Regions from separate parts of the Homo sapiens genome. Here region 2 is linked to region 1. Evidence: promoter capture Hi-C in 16 types of primary human blood cells and fetal thymus (Javierre and others, 2016). All regions are on one chromosome and are shown on one strand. The core of a region is centred on a gene start or on the middle of the fragment in contact, and the rest is flanking DNA. Distances in the headings are between cores, read along the strand shown. Region 1 holds the start of LYAR (Ly1 antibody reactive). Region 2 holds the start of TBC1D14 (TBC1 domain family member 14).

Region 1 (3,718 bases), core at 383-2,882:
GTTGCCCAGGCTGGAGTACAATGGCGCAATCTCGGCTCACTGCAGCCTTTGCCTCCCAGGTTCAAGTGATTCTCCGGCCTCAGCCTCCCCAGTAGCTGGGATTACAGGCACATGCCACCATGCCCGGCTAATTTTTGTATTTTTAGTAGAGACGGAGTTTCACCATGTTGGCCAGGCTGGTTGTGAACTCTTGACCTCAGGTGATCCACCCTCCTCGGCCTCCCAAAGTGCTCGGATGACAGGCACGGGCCACTGCGCTTGGCCTTGACTATTCTTAAAATATTCTTGCATGCACATGCAGACACTGACCTACACATCATTACCACCACTACCACTCAAACAGCCCACCTGAGGGGCCTAGCTGGCAACCCCAGGATATCCCCCACTGAACACTGTGACCCTGAGCATGCCACTGCCTCTATAAACTTCAAGTTATCTCATCTGTGAAACAAGAAGTCAGGCCAACTTGACAAGACTCAAGCCCCTTCCACGGGTAGCATTCTGAGAAACCATGGGTATGGTGCAAGAGAAGGACAGACAAACATACTCTGTCCACCATCCTGCCTAAACCTTTGTGTATGAGGCTGACAAGGGTTACAATGGGTGACATTCACAAGGAGAGAATCTCTCCCTTGTTCCTTGCAAAAGCCCTGGGAAGTAGGTGCACCTATCTCCACTAAACAGATGAGCAAACTGAGGCACAGAAGCCATTTCTCTCTGCCTCCTACCCCACCCACGGCATCACCAGCACTGTTTTAAACACCATCCCTTCACTCGAGTAACTACCATGTGTCAGGCACTATGCTAGACCCTGGGAGCCTCGGGCACAGTGTGAGTAAGTCCCAAGTGGGCCCTCTCTGCTAGAAATCAGGGTTGCAAATACAGACCCCACCTCATCCTCCTCCCTCTCTCCTCAGAGGTAGGTGCTTCAGAGAATCCTAACATTCATGGAGCACCCAAGCCCTCTCATAGGAGGTTAACACATTTCTACTCATGTAATCCTCATCACAGTTCTCCGAGTTAGATTCTATATGTTATGACAGATGAGGAAAGTGAGGCGCAAAGAGGTTAAAAAACTTACACCAGGTCATCCCACATCCAGGTAGTGGCAACCCAGATTCACACGCAGTAGTTATTCTGATCCTAAGTATGTGCTCTGGACCGCTACATCCTAAGGCCTCCTCTTTAGGGACTGATCTCCCAAGGCTCAGAGAAGAGCCCTGTCTCCAACATGCAGCAAGCCTGAAGCCCAGTCGGGCGGTGACCAATCGTCCTGGTTTGGCCAGGCCCGAGGGAGTTCCCAGGACGCCGGACCTTAAGTTTTAAAACTAAAACGAGTTGGTCACCCTAAGTCCAGGACTCCTGCCACTTCCCCAGAGCAGGAGTGAGATCTGAATGGAACTCCTTCCTCCATGCGTAACCCAGAGGGGCTGACGGTGGAAATCCCGTCCCTCCCCTACTCACTCTCTGAGCCCCAGCCTCCCAGGTCGGACCTCTGGGCCACCACCCCTCACCTCTCAGCCAGCGCCCGCCAACGGTTTCAACCGGCCGCGGGGAGCACGTGGACTCGCCGCCGCCAGCCCAGCGCCGCAGCTACCTGCCTCTCAGGCTTCGCGGTGCAGAATTCGCTTCTGAACCACCCAGCGCGCCTGCGCACCGCGGCCACGCCCCCCCCAGTGGAAGTGACGCCAACGGAAGCAGGAAGGCGGTTCCGGCAAGCCAAGGGGGCGTTGTCGTGATGATTCCGCGGCCAGCGGATCGCTGCGAGTGGCCTTGAAGGCAGCTGCTGCAGGTGAAGAGTAGGCGGCGGGGCAGAGAGCGGCCTCCGAGGGTAAGGTGGCCGGCCTTGCGAAGGCGTGCGGGGCTGGCGCTGGTGGGAATGGCCCGGAAGGGAAGGGAGGCCGGGCGCCCGAAGGTGGCCCAGAAGGGCATGGACCCACCGCTCCTTCCCGTCTCTGGGCACTCGAGGATACCCGGGGGGTTGGCGGCTCCTGCGAGAGTCAGCGAGCATTTGCTCTGTGCCGGGCATCACAGGGGACGCGGACTGAGACCCAGACGGCCAGGTTCCGGGCCTGGGAGCCGGGCCTTCTCCCTGGTGCAGCTTCCTCGGCCTGGAAACCCCACCCGCGCCCTCTCATCTCCAGGCTTTGCCCGCTGGAAGCCAGCCCGGCCCGCCTCCGCTACGCGCTGCCCATCTCTCGGCTTCTGTTTCCTTCCACGCTGTAGTTGAGAGTAGCGCTTAAGACGACAGAGCCCACAGCCTAGCTCAGTTTCATTACGGTGTGGCCTCTTTGTGCCTCAGCCCCGCATCTGTAAAGCGAATGTCATAGCGGCACCTGCGTCCCTGGAACCTTGTCGTATTTCATGAGTTGGTGCATGTAAATCGCTTAGACTAGTGGCTGCCACTTAGTAAGTACTCAATAAACGTTAGCTCTTCTCAGCCCTTAAAACAGGGTCTGGCACACAGTGGTGGTCACTAGGTGTTTGTTGCTTAAATGAATGAATGAAAGTTGAGTGGAGGATGCACAGAGTATTGTGAGAAACCTTCACTCCCAAGGTGTGTGTATATGGGTGATAAGGTTTCACTCTGAAAGTGAGCAGTGTTGGGCCTGGAATAGAAGGTGTATTAGTTTGCTAGGACTGCAAACAAAATACTGGGTGGCTTAAACAACAGAAATTTATTATTTTCTCACAGTTCTGGAGGTTAGAAGTCCAAGATCAAGGTGTCTTCAGGTTTGGTTTCTTCTGAGACATTTCTCCTTGGCTTGCACGTGGCTGCTTTCTTGCTGTGTCCTCGCATGGTCTTTCCTCTGTGTTTTCACATCTCTGGCGTCTCTCTTTGCATCCAGATTTCCTCTTTATGAGAACGTCAGTCAGGTTGTATTAGGGCCCACCTTAATGGCCTCATTTTAACTTAATTACCTTCTTACAAGCCTGATCTCCAAATACAATCACATTCTGGAGTGCTGGGGGAACAGTTTAACCATAACAGAAGGAATTCACAGAAATGGACAAGGAGGGAAATACTTTCCAACAGAAGTGACAGAATGGCCAGGAGGCTTAAAAGCAGGGTGCTCAAGATGTTTTTTGTGTTCAGGGCACATATGTGTACTTCAGTCTTGTTTGTGCTCTCGTACTGTTTTTGGGTTTGGTTGTTGTTGTTTGTTTGTTTGTCCTCCTGAATACTCAAAGAAAGTGAGCCCTCTCATTTTTTTAGTCTGGCAAACTTAACTCACATTTCAGCATAGATGTGTCTTCCAGGAAGTTTTCCCTGACCCTCCCTCCCAAATTAATTTCTGCTTCCTCCATTTAATAACTTTGGTACAGGGCTGGGTGCGGTGGCTCACGCCTGTAATCCCAGCGCTTTGGGAGGCCGAGGCAGGCAGCTCCTGAGGTCAAGAGATAGAGACCAGCCTGGCCAACATGGTGAAACCCTGTAAACCCCATCTCTACTAAGAGTACCAAAATTAGGCGGGTGTGGTGGCGCATGCCTGTAATCCCAGCACTTTGGGAGGCTGAGGCGAGTGGATCATTTGAGGTCAGGAGTTTGACACCAGCCTGGCCAACATGGTGAGACCCCCACCCCTCGTCCTTACTAAAAATACAAAAATTAGCTGGGTGTGGTGGTGCATGCCTGTAATCCCAGCTACTCGGGAGGCTGAGGCAGAAGAATCGCTTGAACCCAGGAGGTGGAGGTTGCACTGAGCCGAAAGCACAC
Region 2 (3,718 bases), core at 806-3,305, 2.6 Mb after region 1:
CATTGTAGGGTTTTAGACCCTAAGACTCGGAATTAGGGCTGGAAGGGATTTGGGAGCCCCAAGCAGATCTATTAATCCAACGCATTAAATTGCTAATTAAGTCACGACTGAAGCAGTCTGTACTTTTCCACTAGGGTTTACTTAGAAAAAGCTGGGGAGGCCTTGTTTTAAGAGGTATGAAGGAGGCCTCGTATTATTTTTACTTAAAACCCCCAGAAATTTAAGCATTTATAAAGTTTCTGTGATGCAGCACTGCGAGGGATGTTAATGTTTTTGCTTTCAAGAGATCGCCTTTAAAAATCTCTCTTGCTTCTGCGTCATATCTCATAGATGCTCAGGGTTTTTACAGCCATGAGCTGGAGAGGAGACCCAAGTTCGGGGTTCCCTAGCCCATCCCTAACGACCGCAGTAGAGACAAATCTTCCATTTCATGCTTCCAGATGCTTCCTGTAATGCGGAAACTCCTCCTGCCCCTGACCTTTCTGAGTGGCTGAGTCTTCCCTTAGATTGGGCTGCAGTCAGTCTCTCCCGGGTTTCCTCTCTGGTAATTTATCTGCCAGTGACAACCCTCAGGGCTCCTGGTTGGCAGGAGCCAAAGCCAAGTGGAAATCCAGGACTTCTGGCTCCCAGCGCTGGGTCTCTCCTCTTGCCCTCAAGTCCCCAGAGTCTAACGACAACCCAATAACGTCAAATACCAACTATTTGCCAGGCCCAGGGAAAATAGCAGTAAACAAGATAAGCCCGGCTTTCCTCATGGAACCCACAGCCTAGAAGGGGAATGGAGACCCACTGCCCGTCAACAGGGGCTCCTCACATACTCTCTACCAGCTCATGGAGGGCTCTGGGGCAGGGAACCTGGCTTCTGCCCCTCTCAGCTACTGACCCACCCGGGTCCTTGGGCGGAGGGCTTCATCTCTGAGCCCGTTTCCCGCTTTGTACAATGGCTCTGATCATAGATCCCGTCTCTGGAGTTTGTGCAATGTTGAGGCCAAATATGCAGATAACGCCAGGCCAGTGGCTTCCAAACCCGCGTGCACATTACACAGCTTCCCAAACTGATGATGCTTCCATCTCATCTTCAGAGACTGTGACTTAATCGGCCTGGGCTTCAGAATATTAAAAGCTCCGCAGGCAATACTAAAGTGCAGACCAGTTTGGGAACTACAGCGCCAGGCACCGTGTCACAGCGCGATAAGAGAGAACGTTCGGAAAAGCCCTTTATAGATTAAGAGACTGAGGCTGGCTGGGAGGACGCCACGGCGCCGCTCCCAAGACCACCGCGGCGGGGCCTGAGCTCCGGTGTCACGCAAAGCTTCCCTTCCGCGGCGGGGCCCGGGCCGTCTCCCGCACACCGGCCGGGGCAGGGGAGCCCCATCGATGCGCTCCGCCGCTCGGCTCCCTACGCCTGAGCCCTGCCCGCTCGAGCCCCTTCCCCCTCCCGGCCGCTTCCCACTTCCAAGATGGCTGCGGGTGGAGCCGACCAGGTAAGGGGCCCCCTGTCGGATGTCCGTGGGGGCCCTGCGGGCACAAAGGCCCGCTCAAGGCAGCTCCTCGCCACTCCGGTTGGTTCTCCGGCAAAAAAAAAGGGCCGGCGACGCCGCTCCGGAGGCCCGCGGCGGGCGGCCCCCGGAAGAGGGACAGCCGGGCGAGCGCCGAGCTCCAGACGCGGCGGCACGGGCGGAAGAACGGGCGCGGGCCGGCAGGGGGCGGGGCGCAAGTGCGTGGGGGCGTGCCCAGGGGGCGGGCGAGGGGGCGGGGCGAAGCGAGGGTGCGCGCCGCTGTTCGCCGCGGGCTGCTCGCGCGCACCTGCGGGTCGGACCCGCTGCCTACCGCGTGCCCGGCGTCCTCGTCGCGCGAGTTGCCGGTCCCGCGGGGCCTGGGCTGCGGGCCCACGGGTCCCGGGGATGGCGTCGGAGCCGCGCTAACTCCGGTACTGAGAGCCTCCCGCGAGGGCCGGGCCGCGGGCCGCGAGGGAGGGCAGGGCGCGCGGGGCCGCCACCTGCTGCAGCGCCGGCCGAGGCGGGGAGCGGCCGGGGCGAGGCAGGTCGCCGGGCGCGGGTCCTGCTGGGTGTCCCTCGCCGCGCGGCCGCGGCTCCTGCACGCCAGGGCAGCGCGTGCGTGGCGCCCGGGGTGCCGTTACGGGGCCTCCGGGGCGGGGGCGACTCTCGGGACTCGGCGGCCCTCGCGGAGGCGCGCGCTGTGTCCCGCTCCTTTACGGAACTTGACGAAAAGTTTTCCTACTCCGACGCGAGGCTCCCGGCCTGAGAAGAGGCGCCTCGGTGCGCCAGACCCCGACCCCGGAGCCCCCTTCCACCTCGGACCCTCAGTCCCCAGGCAGCGGACCCTCCTCCTTGGAGCCCCTGACCCCGCTTTCATCTCTGACCCCTCTACCCCTGGAGCCCCTGACCCGCGAAACCCCCTTTCATCTCGGAGCCCTGACCTCCTTGGACCTCCACCCACGCGAACCGTCTGTCCCTGGGCTAGGGAATCTCTCTGCCTCCGCCTTGGAGCCTCCCATTACCGGGCCGCGAAGACCCTGGCCCGGGGACTGTCTCGGGGCCGGGGTAGCTGCCTTGAGGAGTAAGTCCGGGGACTCCTGGTCTCCCTCCCGCCAGGAGTCTCTCTAGGCTGTGGGTTGCGGTCCTGATGGGAACAGCTGGTCAGGAGGATAGGAGAATGACCCTGTGGACTCCAGAGCCAGCCTCTGCGAGCCCCGGGGTGACCGCGCCTGACCAGGCCACGTGAAGTCGTTTCTGTCCTAAAGTTGCATAGGACGCCGTTTTCTCTAGCGTGGAATTGGAAGCTTTGCTTGGGAAGGTTTTATAGGCACCGGTGCGTTTTGCCCCTACTGGAGGTCCCTGGGCATCACCTTGGTTATTTCACGCACTGAGGCTAGATGAGGAGGGTAGTCGTGGTGGTGTCTTGGGGACAAAATGCTCACTGTCTTGTCCCCAGTATTGTAGGATGTTGGCACCTAGTTGCTGTCTTGCCTAGCTTTTATAGCGGTGGGTTGCCTGTTGGAAACTGGTGGTTGCTTTGTCTGGACCGGGCTAGTCCTTACAGCAGTCTTAGAACACTTCCTGTTGCCCAGTTTATCTGGCCAGTACCAACCCATATCTCAGTTTGGGTATGGCTTCCCCCCTCCGACCAACCCTCTTACTGCTTCTTTGCTGTGTGTTTGACCCCTTGAGATTGTGGGCTCCGCAATCCTAATGAGATCCCCAGTCCTAATGAGAGCCTGGCATGAACTTGGTGCTCAGGGTCATTGGGCGAAAACACCTTTTGGGAAACATCAAGGGTGTCAGCTGGTACTAAGGGAGACAGAGTAACTGGCTGGGAGCCACCCACATGGGGAGAGTCAGAGATGGGATTCAAACTGAGGCAGGCTACTGGGCCAGGCTCTGCTCACCTCGGTATCCTCCGCTGTTCCAGCACTTTGCACCGAGCTGGGCCTGATTCCTGTTTGTGCAACTGAGTTTTCACCGTCTGCCCCCAGCCTACCCTCTCACATTCAGCTTGGGCTTTGCCTCTCCTGGCTTCTGCTGTTCCCCTGTGTTCCTTTAGCCCCTGCAGTTCCTCTGCATTGGGTCCGCTGTCTCCACCCCACTCCCCGTTTAGTGGGTGAATTCCTGTCTTTCATGCCTCCACCTTCCCTCCTCTACTCTGGGTTGATTGCTTAGCTGGTGCGCTATAGAAGGCCTCTCTCAAAGTGGGGACA

Evidence for each region. Contacts are between HindIII fragments. The CHiCAGO score rates a contact against its expected background, and 5 or more counts as called.
Region 2: a contact is called between a fragment that was not itself captured here and the fragment with the promoter of LYAR in region 1, in 1 of 17 cell types (fetal thymus). The highest score is 7.7, in fetal thymus.

Annotation. Positions count from the first base shown.
Region 1 is chr4:4,288,522-4,292,239 of GRCh38, forward strand. It overlaps LYAR (Ly1 antibody reactive), which reads right to left and starts at 1,633. Exons shown (of 10, transcript NM_017816.3): 1 at 1,515-1,633. It overlaps ZBTB49 (zinc finger and BTB domain containing 49), which reads left to right and starts at 1,730. Exons shown (of 8, transcript NM_145291.4): 1 at 1,730-1,831. RefSeq lists enhancers at 1-120, 121-658. The HindIII fragment of the contact is 4,525 bases long and covers 1-3,718 here.
Region 2 is chr4:6,908,022-6,911,739 of GRCh38, forward strand. TBC1D14 (TBC1 domain family member 14) reads left to right here and starts at 1,805. Exons shown (of 14, transcript NM_020773.3): 1 at 1,805-1,930. RefSeq lists a silencer at 1,172-2,231 and an enhancer at 2,472-2,541. The HindIII fragment of the contact is 1,491 bases long and covers 1,311-2,801 here.